Linked DNA regions of Homo sapiens: regions 1, 3, 4, 5, 6 and 7 are each linked to region 2. Evidence: promoter capture Hi-C in 16 types of primary human blood cells and fetal thymus (Javierre and others, 2016). All regions are on one chromosome and are shown on one strand. The core of a region is centred on a gene start or on the middle of the fragment in contact, and the rest is flanking DNA. Distances in the headings are between cores, read along the strand shown.

What was found. Contacts are between HindIII fragments. The CHiCAGO score rates a contact against its expected background, and 5 or more counts as called.
Region 1: a fragment that was not itself captured here is called in contact with the fragment with the promoter of GDF7 in region 2 in 14 of 17 cell types (megakaryocytes, naive B cells, erythroblasts and 11 more); the score reaches 9.5 in megakaryocytes.
Region 3: a fragment that was not itself captured here is called in contact with the fragment with the promoter of GDF7 in region 2 in 1 of 17 cell types (neutrophils); the score reaches 7.2 in neutrophils.
Region 4: a contact is called between a fragment that was not itself captured here and the fragment with the promoter of GDF7 in region 2, in 1 of 17 cell types (neutrophils). The highest score is 5.8, in neutrophils.
Region 5: a fragment that was not itself captured here is called in contact with the fragment with the promoter of GDF7 in region 2 in 3 of 17 cell types (neutrophils, monocytes and naive B cells); the score reaches 9.5 in neutrophils.
Region 6: a fragment that was not itself captured here is called in contact with the fragment with the promoter of GDF7 in region 2 in 2 of 17 cell types (neutrophils and monocytes); the score reaches 11.1 in neutrophils.
Region 7: a fragment that was not itself captured here is called in contact with the fragment with the promoter of GDF7 in region 2 in 2 of 17 cell types (megakaryocytes and endothelial precursors); the score reaches 7.6 in megakaryocytes.

Annotation. Positions count from the first base shown.
Region 1 is chr2:20,986,808-20,989,619 of GRCh38, forward strand. No RefSeq gene overlaps it. Among named protein-coding and RNA genes, the nearest start is that of APOB, 56 kb to the right of the region's middle. RefSeq lists enhancers at 2,066-2,567, 2,568-2,812. The HindIII fragment of the contact is 899 bases long and covers 856-1,754 here.
Region 2 is chr2:20,665,797-20,668,693 of GRCh38, forward strand. It overlaps GDF7 (growth differentiation factor 7), which reads left to right and starts at 1,348. Exons shown (of 2, transcript NM_182828.4): 1 at 1,348-1,834. The coding sequence starts at 1,444. RefSeq lists enhancers at 91-921, 1,908-2,027 and silencers at 1,008-1,117, 1,188-1,237, 1,278-1,427. The HindIII fragment of the contact is 16,143 bases long and covers 1-2,897 here.
Region 3 is chr2:20,257,956-20,260,813 of GRCh38, forward strand. PUM2 (pumilio RNA binding family member 2) reads right to left here. Exons shown (of 21, transcript NM_015317.5): 15 at 2,382-2,511; 16 at 288-416. Among named protein-coding and RNA genes, the nearest start is that of SDC1, 34 kb to the left of the region's middle. The HindIII fragment of the contact is 4,669 bases long and covers 1-2,858 here.
Region 4 is chr2:20,220,751-20,223,450 of GRCh38, forward strand. The region is part of intron 1 of SDC1 (syndecan 1); the gene reads right to left. Among named protein-coding and RNA genes, the nearest start is that of SDC1, 3.0 kb to the right of the region's middle. RefSeq lists enhancers at 1,574-2,081, 2,082-2,588. The HindIII fragment of the contact is 791 bases long and covers 968-1,758 here.
Region 5 is chr2:20,237,407-20,240,106 of GRCh38, forward strand. It overlaps the pseudogene DRG1P1. Among named protein-coding and RNA genes, the nearest start is that of SDC1, 14 kb to the left of the region's middle. The HindIII fragment of the contact is 1,606 bases long and covers 560-2,165 here.
Region 6 is chr2:20,281,477-20,284,176 of GRCh38, forward strand. PUM2 (pumilio RNA binding family member 2) reads right to left here. Exons shown (of 21, transcript NM_015317.5): 11 at 1,867-2,010; 12 at 1,471-1,755. Among named protein-coding and RNA genes, the nearest start is that of SDC1, 58 kb to the left of the region's middle. The HindIII fragment of the contact is 9,280 bases long and covers 1-2,700 here.
Region 7 is chr2:21,163,870-21,166,656 of GRCh38, forward strand. No RefSeq gene overlaps it. Among named protein-coding and RNA genes, the nearest start is that of TDRD15, 41 kb to the left of the region's middle. The HindIII fragment of the contact is 590 bases long and covers 1,138-1,727 here.

The DNA of each region.
Region 1 (2,812 bases), core at 55-2,554, 320 kb after region 2:
ACAAGCTAGAGTCTTGTTGCTAGACTTCTAGTGCAGTGCTTTTTGTGTGCTGAGCTCTTTGGAACCCTCTGTCTCCTGAGCAGGTCTGTGGGGTGGCTCTTCCTGTCTTAGGACCAAACTGTTGAAATTTGGAGGACACTGGGGGTATGCATGTGTTCATGTATGTGTGCATGTGGACATGGGGGGGTGCATCTGTTCATGTATGTGTGCATGCATGCATACATTTATGCAGATATGTGTATCTGCACGTGCATGTGTTTGTGTGTGTGTGCACAAGCCTGTGTCTGTATGTAGGTGTTTCTGCATTTCTGTGTCCTCCGTGTGCATGTGTTGGGCCAGGAGTCAATGTAATGTGTACACCTATATGCCTGTGTCTATATGCTTCGGTTACCATTACCAAGGGCCCTACTCAGGATGTTTAGTACCCAGCCTACCACAGTCACTGACCAATCAGAATAAACACTGTCAGTAACTCAGCATTGGCTGGAGTCCTGGGAGGCCAGAGGGTCCTGCGGGAGAAGCCGGAATGACTGGGGTATGTGTGAGAGTTTGGGGAGCTTGGGGGGCAGCCCCTATATACGAATTGGTCCAAAAGTACTTCAATACTTTAACGGCTGGCATGGCCTTCCTTGTGCTAATTGGAAGAATATCAGTCCTTCTGTCCTCAGAAATAAACCTGGGTAAGTGATTAGGAAGATGTGTGCCGGTTAATGTTTGATTTTCAACAAAAGGAATGACACAATTGAATTTGACAAGTTAGAGTACTCTGTTGGCTCTAGACAAGTTATTTAATCCCCCTGAAAAATTGGGATGATCATACCTACCTTTGTATAAGGTTGGTGTAAGGGTGAAATAAGCTTACACCCATATGGTGTGCCTGGCACGTGGAAGTTGTTACTATTATTGGTGTCATCAGTTTTATTATAAAATGGCACAGTGAATGTTTCCAGGTATGATTTTGGAGATCACACAGATCTGGAGTTTATGCCTACTCGGCTGTTCATAAGTTTTAAAAGTGAAGCTACTTAACCTTTTTGAGTCTCAGTTTCCCCGTCTGTAAAATAAAGACACAGGATGTTACTATGCATTTGTTGCAGCACTATTAACATGGCCTTGCAAGAAGTGATCTGGAGCTGAGCTCTGTTAAATTACTCCTGATGATGACGGTGATGGTAATGATGATACTATAGGGGCTCCCCTCTGAAGTCTGCCAGAATCTGAAGGCCTTTAGAGATCACTCGGTCCTATTGTTTATTTGCACAGATGAGACTGATGTGGTCTGTGGAGGTGTGATGGGGGCCTGACCTCAGGCCTCCCTGGGGCTGCGACCTGCGGGCCCACTGAGGCATGAGCAACCTCCAGCTGGGAATGGCCTCCCCACGTTGCTGAGCCCTGGGCTGCACAGCCGACTTTGGGACTTGGAGAGACATCAGTGCCGGATGATGTGCATTTCATTACTTTCAATAGATGTGTAGGTTGTTGTTGAAGACTGATAACTTGCTCCTGTTCATCACACGTGTGCTGTGGCAGACACCCTCCAGGGATTTGGGCTTTGAGTGACTTCAGGGTGGGAGAGGAGAAAAGAGGGCATCACTGGACCTCTTCCCTGGTGGATGGAACAGCGGCATGGCTTGTCCAGGTTAGCAGGCTATGCCGGCCTGGTCCCCTGAGAAACCTCCTCCCCACATTTTGAGGCCTGCATACATGCTGCCCTTAAGTATGTATGGCAGAGGCAGAAACTCAACAGAGACATAAGCTTCCCAGCATCAGGTACCAAACATGACAGAAACCTATTGCGACTTTAGGAGATGGTGAGAGAGGTAGAGGTGTTTGATGGGTACTCAGGGATGATCAGATAAAAGCACTTGGGCAGCATTTACATTGCATGACACTAGTCTGAGAAGTTTACACAATGAACTTCTAAGTCTTCACCAGAACCCTCTGAGGTAGTGCAATGATTATTCCCGTTTTATATATGCAGAAGTGGAGGCACAGAACAGCTCCCTAACCTGTCCAAGGTTACCCCTAAGTGCACAAGAGAGCTGGAATTAGAACTCAGGCAGTTGGGCCTGGAGTCTGTTCTTTTCGTGTTCTCAGTTGGAGGCTGGGACAGAAGGACACAGCCTCTTTCCCTTGGTGAGATTTGGGCTGAATGCTGGGAAACTGTGAGCAAGGACATTTTCTCCAGGCAAAGAGAACAGCCCTGGAGCTTCGAGGAGGGCCTGGGCCACTCACTCTGCATTCCTCAGCCAGCAGCCACACTCAGTTGCCTGGTGAGCCTCTGGAGAACGCCAGGGCATCATCAATCACAGCATGGCCCCTCCTGGGGACTGGCCCCGCCTCACCCTGCCTTTCCTCACTCACTTGCTGAGTTCTCACGGAGAAAGGGATGGGAAGGGAGCACAGCCTTCCCTTGAAGCACTGGCTCCTGGCATCCATGAAGATGTGTGGTTGGGACCAATTCTGCCCTGAAGTTGATCAACAGGGTTATGTTGAGCCCCTGCCAGGAGCTTGGGACCCCAGTCATGGGCTATGGAAGGGATGAGACCCGTGAAACCCAGGCCCAGCCAAGGGAGGGCACGGGACAAACTAATAGGAGGAAAGAGGGCAGTTGGCTTAGAGAAGGGGGAGGTCTGCAGGTTGGGAGATTGGGGGTCCCAGAGGAGGGGGCCTCTGGGAGCCTTTTTGGGGCAAGGAAGTGAGTGAAGGGGTGGCATCCCACTGAGAAAAGAAAGGGAAGGGGTCTGGCTTCTGCCAAAGCCCTGGAGGCACATCTGCTGAGCCCTTTTCCCCAGATGTCAGAAGGGCTGGC
Region 2 (2,897 bases), core at 98-2,597:
CTCTCTGTGGGTCCCAGCGCAGCGCAGCCAGGCAGGCGTCGGGACCTAGGCGGCTTTGGATTCGGCGGGCGACCTCGCTTTGAAGCTGATCACCCGCTCAAGGTGATCACGACGTGCCGACCCAGTCTAGATTTTGAGTTCTGCAGAAAATGCAATTTTAAAGGAAAAGGACCCGCCTGCCCTTCTTCGGCAGTTCGTTTGGCCCAGGCCTTCGATCAGCTGAAAGTTTCCGATCTAGGGGGATGTCCAGGCTGCCGGCGGAGCAGAGCCGATAACCCCCCTCTCCTGCGCGTTCCCCTGAGACTTGGCCTCCGCAACCTGTCCCAGCCGCGGAGCAAACTGCTCTGCGGCCCGCGCGAGTGCGCCCCAGGGCTTCGCCGCTGCCGGGCGTCCCCTCCATCCACCTCGGGACCCGCGCCATCACCGCGGCGGGGTAAGAAGCTCGGAGGCGCCATCCCGGGGCTCTGCGCCGTCCGCTCTCCCGGCTCCTGGCCGCTCACGCACACAGCCGGTAGCTGGTTTTCGTTAGCCGCTGCCCTCGCCCAGAAGGCGGGTGGAAGGTCGCCAGTTGGACGCACAGCCAAACTCTTAGCGCACTCCCGCGCGAGATCCCCCATCACCCGGGGCTGCCGTCCTCATTTCGAGCTCTTTCTAGAGCTTGGCTCCCGCTGAAGCGCAACTTCCGCGCCCAAACCTTGCTTTTACGACGGGCGGTCCGCGTCCAAAGGTCTCTTACAGGCCTGCCCTTTCAGCTCCTCGCCCTCCCTTCCTCCCCTACCGGCCCCCTCCCCTGCTCTGGCCGCCCGCTGCAATCCTTTGGGGTCTGTGGCTGAGTGGGGAACCGCCGACCCGCGATCCGGAACGCGACTTTGAGGCCGCCGGGAGCATCCTGTGGCCTCTCTCTGCGCGGCCACCCGGCCGCGGCGCGAAGCGGTCTGGAGGGCGAGCCCTTCCGCGGCCCCAACTCTGCCGCCCCGTTCCCGGCATTGGGAACCAGGGCAGGGAGGGGGCGGGTGTTTCTCTGCGGGGGAGTGGGGAGGAAGCTGGGCGGGTGCGCGCGGTGCCCCGAGCCTGGAACCACGGAGGGCGCGTTGGTCTTGGGCGGATGGAGGGGGTGTCGCACTGCCGCGGGGAGGCGTGTCGGGAGGCTGGGGCCAGTGGCAGTCGCTTGGCGAGGGTGGGGGCGTAGCGCTGCGGTGGGAGGAGGCGGCTCCGGCCCTGGTCTCCACTCTAGGCCGGGGTGGGGGGCGCATAGCGGCCGCCGGAGCTTTCAGCAGGGGGCGCTGCTCCGGGCGTTGGGCGGGGGTGGGGTGGGCCAGGAGGGGGGGCCGCGGGCTGGCCGCGCACACTTCCCCCATTATTAAACACTATGTTCAAAAGGCGCCGGGGGACTTCCCGGAGCCACGGAGCCCGCGCCGCCCGCCCGCCCGGCCCACGGAGCCCATGGACCTGAGCGCCGCCGCCGCGCTGTGCCTTTGGCTGCTGAGCGCCTGCCGCCCCCGCGACGGGCTGGAAGCGGCCGCCGTGCTGCGAGCGGCGGGGGCTGGGCCGGTCCGGAGCCCAGGGGGCGGCGGCGGCGGCGGCGGCGGCGGGCGGACTCTTGCCCAGGCTGCGGGCGCCGCGGCTGTCCCGGCCGCCGCGGTTCCCCGGGCCCGCGCCGCGCGCCGCGCCGCGGGCTCCGGCTTCAGGAACGGCTCGGTGGTGCCGCACCACTTCATGATGTCGCTTTACCGGAGCCTGGCCGGGAGGGCTCCGGCCGGGGCAGCCGCTGTCTCCGCCTCGGGCCATGGTCGCGCGGACACGATCACCGGCTTCACAGACCAGGCGACCCAAGGTACTTACGCCTCTTCTGTGCCCGCCCATCCCGTCAGGTCCTGGGCTGAGACCAGCCCCGGAGCCGTGCCGCAGCTCCGTTACATTTGGAGCCGCGGCCCCATGCGGCCCACCCTCAGGTGATAGAAAGAAACTTCGCCGAGGCCAACACTCTCCAGCCCGCTGCACCTGGACTGTGGCGAGAGTCGCGGCAGCTCCCGGGGCCCAGTCCCAGAGGGCTGACTGGTCCCTCTCCCAGGTCTCCCTGGCCTTGCAGGCCGGCTGGTCCCCTCGAGGAGGCAGGCGGAGGCCAAGATTCGCTTCTTGGGGAATGGTCTGGAGTGGCCTCGGAGCCCTCAGAGAAGAAAGGAGGGCAAGAGCTGTGTTCCCGGGAGTCACGGCGAGAGGGACTGCACGGTGGTGAGGGTGATGGCTCCTTCCTTGCAGCAATTTCTGCAGCTCCCAGTCTCCTGCGGGCCACACAAATTGGGGGAAGCCCAGGGAAAACTAGGGCAGAGGCAGGTATCAGACTAAAGTAAATGGCCCTGGAGAGGCTGGTGGCATAACCAGGTATGAGGAGTGCCCTGCTCAGCAGGTTGGTCTGGGTGGTGGTGGTTTGTGTGTGTGTGACATGTGCAGCTATGGGTGCCTGTGTCTGGTGCTGGGCCCCTGGGAGAGCCAGAGGTCAAGGATCCTGGTGGTGTGGGGAGGAGAGGCCTGCTGGGGACCCTGCAGGAATGCAGGCCTCTCTTAGACTAAGCACCCCACCTTGTTCTGCCCTGGGCCTTCCAAAGGTAAGATGTAGGTGAGGCTGTGGTGTGGCTGCTGTATGTCATCTGGATTTTATTAATCTCCATTGAAATCATTAAAGCAGACAGATAGAGAAAATTTACCTAATTTCAGGCGGAAATGCAAGTAATTTCGGCCTTAATTCTATCCAGCCAGAGACCCAGCATGGAGGGCAGGAGGGAAAGAAAGGCGAATAGGGCTGGGAAGTGAGCGGGTGGGGCTGAGGCAGCCCTGCTTGGGAGCCACTGACAGTCAGCATACCTCAGGTCCTAGCCTGGGAAGGCAGGCAGAGGCCT
Region 3 (2,858 bases), core at 334-2,833, 410 kb before region 2:
ACATGCATTCTCACATTGCAGAAAATCAAGTAAGCAAGTAGTAATAAAAACACTCATCATTTAACATTCTGCTTGCCACATAGGTGCTAAAATATCTTCATTTAGAAATTATCTACTTTGTGACTTCTAATTAGTAGTGTGCTATTTAGGACACAGTAACAACATTTTAGTCTAGTTGTGGAAATATTTAAGTCTTTTCACTTCAAGATTACTGTAAGATTAAAAACATGTAATAATTTAAAAATTGAATAAAATAATACAAAAATTTTGTCTTAACTTACAATTACCTGCTGGTCAGAAGAAATAGATTCTAATGCTTTCTGAATAACGCGGCAGCCATACATCTGCAAGGCTAAGGGTAGAACATGACCACGAATACGAGTAGCCAGGGCTAATTTTTGATCCAGACTCCCAAACTGACAGAAAAGATATAACATTAATAACAAGTGACCTTAATATTGCTTTGTTGAACTTGAGTAAGGCAGTGTTTGCAGTCTATTCATTCTATCAGTAACTATGTAGGGCAGGGGCTTTAAGGTAGAAGCTAATTAAGATAGACTGGGAAATGTTTCCAATAATAATTTTTTATTACTTCTTTGGGTTAAGTCTTACTAAAATTTCCTTGTTACTAATATGTTAACTACCTTTTAAAGAAACACTCTTTTAAAGTGAACATCTTTACAAAACCCTTCATCTTTTTTTTTTTTTTTTTTTTTTTTTGTTGAGACGGAGTCTCGCTCTGTCGCCCAGGCTGGACTGCGGACTGCAGTGGCACAATCTCGGCTCACTGCAAGCTCTGCTTCCCGGGTTCACGCCATTCTCCTGCCTCAGCCTCCCGAGTAGCTGGGACTACAGGCGCCCGCCACCGCGCCCGGCTAATTTTTTGTATTTTTAGTAGAGACGGGGTTTCACCTTGTTAGCCAGGATGGTCTCGATCTCCTGACCTCATGATCCACCCGCCTCGGCCTCCCAAAGTGCTGGGATTACAGGCGTGAGCCACCGCGCCCGGCCAAAACCCTTCATCTTTAATATATAACTTTCTTAGCCATACGTTGACCACCAAAACTCTTCACCCAGATAATCATCAAACTACATTCTGATATGATTGAGGAAAAAACTGTTAAAGTCATTAAGCTACAACACAGATGCTTATAAATTTAAAAATTGGCTAAACTGTAAAATAACACACATCTATAAATCCAAAGACTATAGTGTTATTCATTAACTACTTTACCAAAGATTGACTACCAATGCTTTATATTTTCAAATATGAATCAGGATTAATAGCAAATTTTCATTTAAAGTGGTTCATGTTAAAATTTTTTTTGTGACAAACTGCCATTTGAACCATTTTTAGCTAGGTGATTGAGTAGCATTAATTATATTCACACTGTTGTGCAACCACCATCACTATCACTATTTGTTTCCAAATCTTTTCCGTGGCCTCAAACACAAATGCTGTATCCATTAAATGGTAACTTTCTAAACCCTTCTTCCTCTAGGCCCAGTAACCCCTAATCTACTTTATGCCACTATTAGTTATTCTAGACATTTCATACTGGTAGATCACTATCAATGTTTGTCCTTTTGTGTGTGGCTTGTTTCACTTAAGTTAGTATTTTCAAGGTCCATCCATGTTGTAGTATGTATCAGAACGTCATTCCTTTTTATGGCTGAATAATATTCTATAATGTATACATATACCACTTGTATTTATCTACTCATCTGTTGACGGACACTTGGGCTGTTTCCGCCTTTTGGCTATCGTGAATAATGGTGCAATATATACTGGTGTTCAGGTTCCTGCTTTCAATTCATTTGCTTTCAATTGTACCCCTAGGAGTACAATTGCTGGATTGTGTGGTGATTCAATATTTAATTTTGAGAAACTGCCAAACTGTTTTCCATAGCAGCTACACCATTTTACATTTCCACCAGCAATTTATGAGGGCTCTAATTTCTCCATATCCTCATCCACATTTGTTATTTTCCGATTTTATGTTTTCCGATTACAGTCATCTTAGTAGGTATAAAATGGTATCTCATTGTGAGATTGATCTGCATTTCCCTGATTAGTAAGGATGTTGAGCATCTTTTCATGGCCTATGTGGCCTTTTGTATTATTTTACATAGAGAAATGTCTGTGCAAGTCCTTTGTCCATTTGTCATTTGGGTTGTCTTTTTGTTGTTGACTTTTTAGGAGTTCATTACAATATATCCTGGATAAAATGTTTACCGCATATATAATTTGTAAATATCTTATCCCTGGCTTATTATCTTTTTTTATATGAAAATGACTTTACCCAACTTTCAGAGCTTTTCTTAGCATCAAGTATACAACAGCTGGATGGGCGGATATACAAATATGCATGAATCCTTACCTCAAAAAACTTCTGTATAACATAGTTGCCAAAAACATCAGTCATTAATTGATAGGCTGCTTGCAGAATTTCATTAAATACCATCTGTCGCTCAGCTGGAGTAGCTCTCTCTAGTTTTTGCTGTATGAATCTACATAGGGAACATTTTTAATATGACAATATGTTTTTTAATACACTTGAGTATTACACCCTACCCTTCCACATATATGCACTGCAAGTTATTTCCATAAATATTACCATACTTTATATAGTAGACAGCTAACTTACAGCAAAAAGGACAAAAGTTATATAGCATTTCTTTATAACACCTTATCTAAAGATAGAGTGACAAAAAACCTGGATATAAAGATGTTTAATCTTTCTTAGGTTGGTTACATTATAATCAATAAGAAAATTACGTAAATTTTGCTGCTTATTCATTTATTTTTCATAATATACAATGTATTACTAAACATCTAACTTTTAGAACATAATAAA
Region 4 (2,700 bases), core at 113-2,612, 450 kb before region 2:
CAGAGTTGAGACTCAGTCCTGGGGCTCTACTTAATCCAAAGCCATTTCTGGCCTGTCACACAGTATGGATGCACATTATATAGAAACAGGAACTAAAATCCAAATCAAACATGTGGTGAAGAGTTGGGGGCATGACCGAAGCTGAGAGTAACAGTCAAGGCTAAAGAATAATGGCCCTCAGCTGGTCAGTCCAGCTACCTGTGACCAGCAAGTCACTTACAAGTCAAACCAGGTCGAGGAACTTGGAACATGGGGGTCAGCAAGCACTTCCCCCAAGAGATGACTCATTTTTCTCCACTGAGAGAGGCCCCTAAAGGCCTCACCTTGGCAGCACCTCTTTGTTACTCTAGGTGGGGTGCAGGGAGGTAGAGGGGAGACTGCAACAGGTCCCAGCTGAAGTTCATGAAGGGTACAAAATCCACATATCACAGATCATCAGTCTCACTCACAGGCAAGGCCCTTACCCAGAGCCTAAAACTCTCAGCTTGGAAATAAGCCTAACTCATCTGATTAGTTTCTTAGTGCCACTGGAGAAAAGTAACAAATTAGAACTGATCAGAAAAGCTGCTGGCTACACTCAGGCACATAAATGTCACTTCTGGCTGCTCTCTGGAAAAAGGAGAAAGACCAGAATTCAAAACAGAGCAACCTGGGGCACCAGGCAGAGGGGCAAAGTGCTCTTCAGAGCACAGTAAATCCAGGAGACAATGTCCTAACCCAGCACAATGATGAGGAGGACGACCCTGGCAGGCAGAGATTAAATCATGCCTAGCATTTTTTGGTTGATAAAGGAAGGGAAATAAATACTTCAGAGAGTCATGCCCAGAGTAAGAATACTCGAGGGTAATAGGGATTCTTAGCTTGATGAAAAAATATGAATACACAGGACACCTCATTCCCAAGGGATTTCAGGAATCCAAAATTCTGCTGCAACAGAAAAGATTCCTCTAAAAAACTGCAGAAGTCAAGCTTTTCATTAATTCTTTCCAGGCTCTCTCCTTTCTTACTGTCTCCCTACCAATGTGTGTTAATGAGGTTTTACTGGAACCCATCATGAGCCACAGGTAGAGACTTAAACCGCTCCACCCTCCCTGTAGAGCTGAAGCCAGGGATGACATCACTTCTAGAAGGCTCTGAGCCTGAGCGGAGGCAGCTAGTGCCTCCCCCCATACCCTCTCTGCCAGGCTGTGGGAAAATGTCTCTACTAGCCCCCATAATTAGGGCAAAAGGGATTTTATGCCTTTCAAGAAAGAGAAGAGAGAAAGAATGAAAAATAGCAAATAACTATTCCAGAACAAGCCATTTTTCTTACATGGCAGAAACAAAAGACCACAGTAAACACACACACACACACACACACAGAGAGAAAGAGAGAGAGAAACCTTTTTAGACAAACCTGTTTTAGTCTCTTGGGAGTGGTTTTGAGCAACCTCCTCTCCTAGCAGCCTCCCCTCACCCATTCAGTCACTCCTTGCTTCCCTGGTCCCCAGGGGGTTTCTGACCTGCTTCCCACTGGGGCCAGAGTGAACTTTCAGAGAGGGTCAGATCTCTGCCACTTGCAAATACCTTCTCCCATCTTAAAGCAAATCCCAGCTGCCTGATTTCTTTTAGGAAAGGGGTATCAGAGCTTTGGGAAGGCAGTGCATGCCCCCACCTTTAACCTAACATGGACATTCACTGTAAGAGGAAGAGGGCAGAACTGGGAAAGAGAAAACAAACTAATCTTTGTAAGATCAGAAAAAGCAAAAAGAACACCTAAGCTTCAAGCCAGAGTCTGACCCCAAAGCTCAGGTGGGGCTTTCAGGCTCAGCTCAAGCACCTCCTCCAGGAAGCCTTCCCTCCCTGCAGCTCCAGGGAGTCTCCCTCCTTTCCCCTTTTGAGACTCTCCTGCCTCCTGGGCCCTATGTCCAAGTTTCTGGGCAAGAAATAATGCCTCACACTGCAGCATCTGCCCCAGCCCACAGAAAACTCCAGGAAAGGCAGTTCACGGGGAAGCCCAAACTCCACCTGCCTCCCCAGCATTAACGGGTGCGGTGGGATCCCAGGGCTCTGGAATGTCTGCTTTACCCCAGGCAGGCAAGGGAACCAGCAGCCCTCCTAAATCCAGCCGGAAATAGGTGGAGGACCCAACTTCAGCCGCCCCTGCTGAGGCCCCATCATGTGCGAGAATGGGGCAGTGAGGTGATGCCCAGCGGTCCAGGGAGGTAAGGCACCCAGCTCCATTCTCTTCTCCAAACTCGGAGCGAAGACTCCAAGCACAGTCTCAGTTCCACAGAAACCACCACCCTAGAGAGCAGCTTCTTGGACCTGAAAGCCAGGAGTGCATGAGACCCAGCTCGGAAATCATGGCCCTCCCCGTGCTCCCAGATACCCCTCACAGTCCAGCCCATTCACAGTTCAATAGGCACAGGGACCTCTCCTGGACCGGAAAATGTCTGGAAGCACGAGTCACCTGGGAAGCAGGGAGGGCGCTTTACACATCGGTCTCAGAAACGACTGTCCCTACCTCATCTCCCATGAGACAGACTCTGTAAAGAAAAAAAAAACCAAAGCGCTCAATAACTGGCAGCTACTACACGAGGCAACGCTTACGGAGGGTCAGCGCTGCTGAGACTTGTCCAGATGCCACATTAGCAGTGGAGAACCCGAGTGCCCACCCCGCCCCCGCCCCTTCCCTGCCCACGTGCCTCCCTTTGCCAG
Region 5 (2,700 bases), core at 113-2,612, 430 kb before region 2:
TATGAGCCTGCTTTCAATTCCTTTGGAGGTATTTCAAGAAGTGGGATTGCTGAATCACAAGGTAATTCTATTTTTAATTTTTCAAAGACGCACCATACTGTTTTTTCCACAGAGGCTTCACCAACACTTGTTATTTCCTTGTTCTTTTTTTTTTCTTTTAGTAGCTGTCTCAATGGGTGTGAAATGATATCTCATTGCAGTTTTGACTTGCATTTCCGTGATGATGACTGATGACATTGAGCATCTTTTCACATTCTTCTTGGCCATTTATATATCATCTTTGGAGAAATGTCTATTTAAGTCCTTTGTCCATTTTAAAATCACGTTGTTTTTTGTTGTTGTTGAGTTGTAGGTGTCTATGTATTCTGAATATTAACCCTTTATTATTTACATATTTGCAAATATTTTCTCCCAGTCTGTAGATTGCCTTTCCACTTTGTTGATTGTTTCCTTTGGTGCACAGACATTTTAAAGTTTGATGTAGTCTCATTTATTTAGTTTTGCTTTTGCATGTGTTTTTGCTGTCATAGCCAAATCACTGCCAAATCCAACATCACGAAGCTTTCCCCCTACATTTTCTTATAGGGTTTCACAGTTTTCGGTCTTACGTTTAGATCTTCATCCATTTTTAGTTAGTTTTGTATATGATGTAAGGTAAGGGACCAACTTTTGCATCACTTGTTGCAACGACTGTTGTTTCCTCATTGGACGGTCTTGGCACCCTTGTGGAAGATCACTTGACCATATATGCGAGGGTTTCTCCCTGGTCTGTCTATTCTCTTCCTTCGGTCTGTATGTCTGTCTTTATGCCAGTGCCACACTGTTTGGATTACTGTAGCTTTCTAATAAGTTTTGAAATCAGGAAACGTGATACCTCTGGTTTTGTTTGTTTGTTTCCTACTTCCTTAATTTCTTTAATGGTATTGATATAGTCAAGTTTCCCACTCCTCTTGAATCAATTTTGGAACTATATATTTCCCTAGAAAATTATTTATTTTGGGCTGGGTGCAGAGGCTTACACCTGTAAATCCCAGCACTTTGAAAGGCTGAGGCAGGAGGATCGCTTGAGCTCAGAGGTTTGAGACCACCCTGGGCAATGTGGCGAAAACTCATCTCTATAAAAAAATACTAAAAATTAGCTGGGTGTGGTGGAGCACACCTGTGGTCCTAGCTACTTGGGAGGCTGAGGTGGGAGGATAACTTGAGCCTGGGAGGCTGAGTTTGCAGTGAACTGTGATGGTGATCATACTACTGCACTCCAGCTTGGGTGACAGAGTGAGACTCTGTCTCAAAAAAAAAAGGAAAGAAAATTATTTATTTCATTTAATTTTTAGTTTGTAAGTAGACTTTTAATATAAATTCTCTTATAATTAAAAATCACAATTTTATATCTTCTTACTGTTTGTGTCTTTCATCTTTTTTGCTAAATTCAAATTTTCCAAAAGCATGTCTAATTCATTATTTTTAACTGGTCAAGTTTTTGTGAGTGTGTGTGTGAGTTTGTTATTAATTCCGTCCTTCCGCTTTCTTTGTAATTTTTTTTGGTCTTATTTTACTAGCTTCTTGAGTTCATTTATCTTCAGATTTTCTTGACTAAACATTTTCTTTAAATAACGTTTGGCCTGAATCCCCAGGTTTTTATATATGTCTGTCATTGCTATTAATTTGGAAATTAACCCATAATAGTTTGTTCTAGATTAGATTAGCTCTTTAAATGAGGAGTTACTAAGAAGAGTATTTTAAAAAATTTCTAGAGTAGGCATGGTGGCTCATGCCTGTAATCCCAATACTCTGGGAGGCCTAGGTGGGAGGATTGTTTGAGGCCAGGAATTCAAGGACAGCCTGGAAACATAGCGAGACCTTGTCTCAAATAAATTTTTTTCTAAGATATATTTCTAGTAACAAATATATTTATATTTTGAAGATACATGCTTTATTAATAAATATATTTCTGTTTCTAAGATCGTTTTGCCCTCCCTTTCTAATTAAATTGCATTCTATTCAGTGAATGTGTCCTGTATGATTTCAGCTTCTTGGGTTTATTAGGCTCTTCATTATGGCCTAATAAATACAAAGAAAAATATTTGGAATTTGCATACTCAACAGTTAACAACGATTAACTCTTGGGAGGGGAATGAAATTGAAAGGCAGAGACAATGAGGAGAAGCTTTTTGTTTGTTTTTATTTTGTTTGCTTTTGATTGTTGGGAAGTTTTTATACTATAAGAATTCGCTCAAGTATAATGGTTTTCTTTTTCTTTTTTTTTTTGCACATAGATGACCAGCCTACCAGGTCTTTTATGCAGTTCGACATACAAGGTGACAGCAAGGTAAGACTAACGAAGTGCCAGTTTTGGTGCCTCCATCTCCCTCCCCTGGATCCTGATCCAGTGACTGCCAAAACCAGAAGGAACTGGGGTAGGGTGCTTGATCATGGGGAAGGCTGCTGTGGTTCGCCCGGTAGATGGGAAAAGGAAAAGGTTGCACTTCTTCACAATTTGAATGACATCCTTGTCCTCCAACGTATGGTCTTTACCCACTTTTTGAGGATTGTGTTTCACAGAGAGACCCCAGACCAGAGCATATTTAAATTCTTTGATAAGATTTTTGTGAATCTTCATGCAGAAATCTCCACTGTGGTCCTGGAGTAAGGAAGTACCACTGAGGATGTGTAACCTGGTAATTGCCTTTGGGTTTGGTG
Region 6 (2,700 bases), core at 6-2,505, 380 kb before region 2:
TTTTTTCTGAATTATTTAGGGCCTACAATTTATAATTTAAAAACTATTTCCACAAGTTTGTTTTTTATGTTACTTGTTCTTCCAGTTTTCCTCAGAATATTTAGGATTCTTTGGAGAAAATGTCCCAATTGTGTTAGAAACAAGGAATGAGTCCTATGGGAGTGCGTGAGGTGGACAAAGAGATACACAACTCCAAAAGCAATGAAAAAACTCAAGTACAAAATTGAAAAGATTTAACAATCCCCATGTTCACTGGATTTTCCCTCAGAAATTCTTATGAGCAGTCTTCAGATAATTTTGTGTCAGTCCAATATGACATCCACTTATTGTATTTCATTACAATAAATGAAAAAAGATTCTGCCATCTAAAAGTTTGTGGCTGTTCTAGACCATCCTTCCTGTATATATGAATGATAAAAGTTCAGAAGACACTCCCTTAGAAAACTGGCAAGCATTGTTAATAATGCCTGGCATGTGTTAGTTCTGCCATTTTCCACACCAGAAAAGAATATAATTTGATGTGGTAAGAAAAGAGATCAGAAACAGATATTAAGGACTGTAGCAAGTTATGTTATAGAAACAGAAAATCTCTTGAGGTCCAAATAGTCCTATCCTCATGAAGTAAAAGCTGCCAGCTGCACCGATAGAACTGGGTCAGCTGTTTTTTCCCTAATGTTTCCTGAGTACTGTGGAAACCTCACAGAAAACACCAAGTGTATCAACAAGAAGTCAACGTGGGCCTCTTCTGATTTCACTTAGTTCTTCCTCTACCACAGGATCCAGGAACCAGTTTGAGTGGGTCAATTATTTAGTGAAGCTATTTAAAATTTTGATTTGTTAAGTGTTATATAAAGCTAAGATACATGAATAGATACCCTTTTAAGTGAATTTTTAGTGACAAAGGCTAACTTATTTAATCTAAAAGATAACCATACTGGTAGCTTCTTAGGGGATTCTGTGTAGAACATTTCAGTATTTATACATACACATATGTATTTTTTATATTAGGCCAAATTTAAAAACTGTAATAAACTACCAGCATTTAATAAGAATAAACCATCTAATAAGGACACAAAGATAACTGCTTTAAAATACCAAAAATTTAAGACGGCAAAATATTTGCCTCCACAAACATTATGTAGTGAATGAAGATGAGCTAATAATTAGTGAATAATATATTGACCCAAATAAACCCTACTAAAACAAAAATTACAGTAATCAATTCCTAGAGCCAGGGAAAAAGGAAATGTATTATATATGAGTAAAGAACAGGCTGCCTATAGTGAGTTAAACATTGGTGAGTGTTGAAAAGATTTGCAGGATTTTTTTTTCCTACAAATTAAACCAGTAGTCCAATACTTTATTCCTGTCCTTCCTATCCTACATGCTATTATTGCTTATTTTAATGTTAAACACACTCATATACCTCTTCCACTTAGCAGAGTACACTCATCGTAAAAACAAACTTACCTGATGAACCAAATCCACTGAGGGCTGAGCCTATAGCAGCACCCAAAGAGTTACCACTTCCAAAGCCAAGAGATGTACTTCCAGGTTGACCAGGTCCATGAGAAAATAAAGAACTACTCTGGGAGCTATTAGTCAAAGAACTGCTTCCATAAAATGAATTAGATTGCAGATTAGTGCTTGGCTGCTGTTGCTGCTGCTGTGGTGGCTGAGTGCCAATTGGCCGAAACAGACCATTTGTGCTGCCTGTAAGGCTACTTGCAGTTCCTCCAGCTGCTGCTGCTGCTGCTGTAAAATAAATTTCAGATACTTCTTTAAACCACCCAGAAAATTCTGTATTTTAAAAATGGTATCTCAACACCAGAAAAATATTATCCTAAAAATGTCAGTTACACTTACCAGCTTGTGCTGCTGCTGAACTAATTAAAACAGGTGTTGGAGCCATTAACCGAACTGGAGCTCCAAGGCCAGTCCTTGCTCCAGGGCCAACCACTAAGGCACCAGTCTGATCATAATAGGCAGTTGGAGCTAGTACTTGATAGCCTAAATAAAATAAAGGTTTACTAATGAAAGCACTTATTACAAAAACATGCATATTTGTTTTTCCCTGCATTTGTATTTTTTCAACTAGACAACACAGCTATTTGTACCATTACTATAAAATCCTTAGTTAATATATGCAAAGCAACACATTTGACAAGGTCTTACTAAATATATGAAAAAGTAATAGACTGTCATTAAACATTTTTTCTCTAAATTTTACTCAGGGGCCACAAAATGAAGAGGTATTTTCCTTAATATAGAAACTACAGGCTATGAAGGAAGGGCTGATATTAGAAAAAAAAAATCACCATTTAGCCCTTCGAAGAAGAAGGATTAAAAAAACTGGGAGTAGCGAGGTAGAACACTGTACGAAATGTTTACTGTGCAATTTCATTGAAGTTCAAAATCAAGTGCCTCATTACCAGCATTCCGTTAGATTTTCATTTGTAATCATCTCTTTAAAAACTTAAGCCAAACATTCTATTTGTGAAGATTCTCAAGCTAGAGTTTAATTAAAAATCACACAGGCTTTAGTTTTATTGTAGCCTTAAGCACAAGGTAGGTAATCTTCACAAATAGTGGAGAATAAAGTTAACTTCTTAGCAGCCTTTCTCAATGGAGATTCTCTGTTGAACCAAAAACACAGAAAATGATTTAAGTAAGTATTTTGTTAATTCTCCTAAGGATGGT
Region 7 (2,787 bases), core at 183-2,682, 500 kb after region 2:
AACCACTTTAGCCAGTTGCCACTGTCTGTCTGGCAGTCTGAAACCTACCTCAGGTTTCTTTTATTTCCATTCAAAAAGGATGTGGGTTCTGCCCGTAGGAAAAGTTTCTTCTCATTGTTTTTCATGAATGCTTCTGAATTGAGCTATAGTTTAGCAGTAGTTCATATTGGCTGGAGATGACGTTGATTTGACCAATTTATGGAACAGGCTTCCCCTTCCCCTCCCCGCCCTTAAATTGTCTGTCAGGTGATCCTAGGAAATCCTTCCAGGAAGACAAAAGAGAAGTGTGTGATTTTTGAGTGTCTGAATGTCATATCAATTTTAGATTCCTGGGTTAAATCCCACTTAGATGTGCTATATAATCTTGTTAATATCTTGCTGAATTTGGTGCTAATATTTTGTTAAGGAATTTTGCATCTGTATTTATAAGTAATACCGGTATATAGATTTATGGTTTTTAAATCATGTCTTTGTCTGGATTTCGTATCAGGATGCCAATGGGTTGGGAAATGACTGAAAACATTTTTGTAGGGTTGGTATTATTTCTTTCTTCAAAATTTAATCGTATTTACCAGTAAAGTAATCTGAACATGGACTTTTCTTTGTGGGAAAATTGTTAATTACTAATTTAAATTTTATCAAGTTATGTAACTATCACTATAAATAAGTTTCAATACATTTTTATCACTGCATTGTCATTCCTGTGTCACATTACTGTTAATCCCTATGTACTGTCTTGCCTCTACCCTCTGCTACAGGAAAATGCTAATATCTGTCTTTAAAGCTTGCTCTTTTCTGAATATTTTATGTAAGTGGAATCACACAGTATATGGTCTCTTCTGTCTGACTCCTTTCACTAAACAAAATTTTTTTGAGATTCATCCATCTCATAGCATCTGTCAATAGTTCATTCCTTTTTATTGCTGAATAATATTCCATTCAGTAAACATATCACATTTCAGTCATTTCTAAGTTTTGGTTTGTGATTATGATTATGATTATTGCTGCTAGAAACATATGTATGCAAGCCATTAGTAGATACTGTTGGTACAGTAAGAATGAAGAGACTTGGTAGTGAGTAAAGTAAGAGTTTCAGTGAAAAAGTTTGTGATGCATTTTTTTTTCTGCCTAGAAGCAAGCTTCCTTGTTTATTTACTTGGTTTTGGGATACTAAGTCATGTGACTGTATCTGAGTTTCTAGATAGTGGATGTGTCACTGTATATTACTTTGCACTGGTTTATTTATAACATTCTGCTTAATTTGCATTTTGTTCTCTCCTACTTGGTTAAAAACTCAATAAATGTAATGATTCTTTCAGTTTGCCTCCATATTTTATACATAATACATGAGATAAATATATATTGATTAATTGAATTTAAAATTTTATCATCTCTTCAAAGGGCGTATTTCATGAGCTTTTAAAAATAATGTGAAAACACTACGGATATCTTAGTAAATAGGGACTATAGGTTCCCTATTTACTAAGGGATTAATTAACCAATATTCCCTTTATTAATAAGGCTTATAGTCTGACTTTTAAGGAACTGTATTTCTCTTTTGGTAATCTGTACTTCTAATTTGAATTTGAATATTGTACAAGTCAAATATACTAAGAGGTAAAGATTGCAGATAAAAGAGCAAATTTTCCCAGCAGTTAAGAAAATGTTTCTATATTTTTTTGGGGTGGTTTTACTGACATCTAGTGGCATTCAGTCCTATATATTTAAGCTTGCTTTATTTCTACTTGTCTTTCCATGACTATTTTATGTTTTAAAACTTAAGGAAAAAGCCAGTTCAGGTGTCTAACGTGAGGATAGCATTTTTTTGAGGATTCATGATATTATGCATATACCTTGTATATTATTTGACATAAATGGATAAATATGACTATGTCATTCATTCCTAAGTGCAGTTTTTTCCTGTACTTTTTCATTTCCTTTATTTGCTTGGATTTCCTTTCCTCCTCCTTTCCTCATTGATATAATCCCTCCCTTGCCCTGAGGTAGGTCATTATAACACTAGAGATTTTCTCCATGTGCATGTAAATCAATGACTGAGTGATTATACGTCTATAAATACATATATACAAGTTACAAATTTGTGTTATTTGTTCTAGAAAAATAAGATCATACATAATTCTTTGCATTTTGCTTTTCTTAGCTTACCTCTTGAAAATCTTTTTAAGATAGGTAATGTAGTTCTATTTGTTCTTTTAAATGTATGCATACTATTTAAAATTGTGGATGTATTTTAATTTTGTTTTCAGTAACTTTTCTATTGGTGACTACTCATCATTAATTTTTTTTTTTTTTGCCACATTGAGGATACTTACATTACACATCCATGCCTATATATCCTTACATAGAGTAACTTTGACTCTTTGAGATAGCTTTTTATCAGTGAGATTGCTGGGTGAAAGAATGTGTTTAATTTTAATAGATGTTATCATATTGCTTTCAAAAACAGCTGAAATATCTTTGAGCAATGTATGAGAATACCTTCCCCACATCACCATTACTAAAATAGAATTTTTGGTATCTTAATTATAAAATAGTGTCACAAATAAAAGAAATATTTTAATATATTCTTTAGATTTATTTCATTTTTTCTTATAGCATGTGTTAAAATTTCCAAGAAAATGATTAATAGTATTGATTGTGAATACTACTCTAGTTACTGATTTAAATTGAAGTGGATTTAGTTTTAGAATATAGGATATTTGCTCTTGGTTTTTAATACATGTTTTTAAAGTTTATATTTAACTAGTTTCCTTCTAATTTTATTCT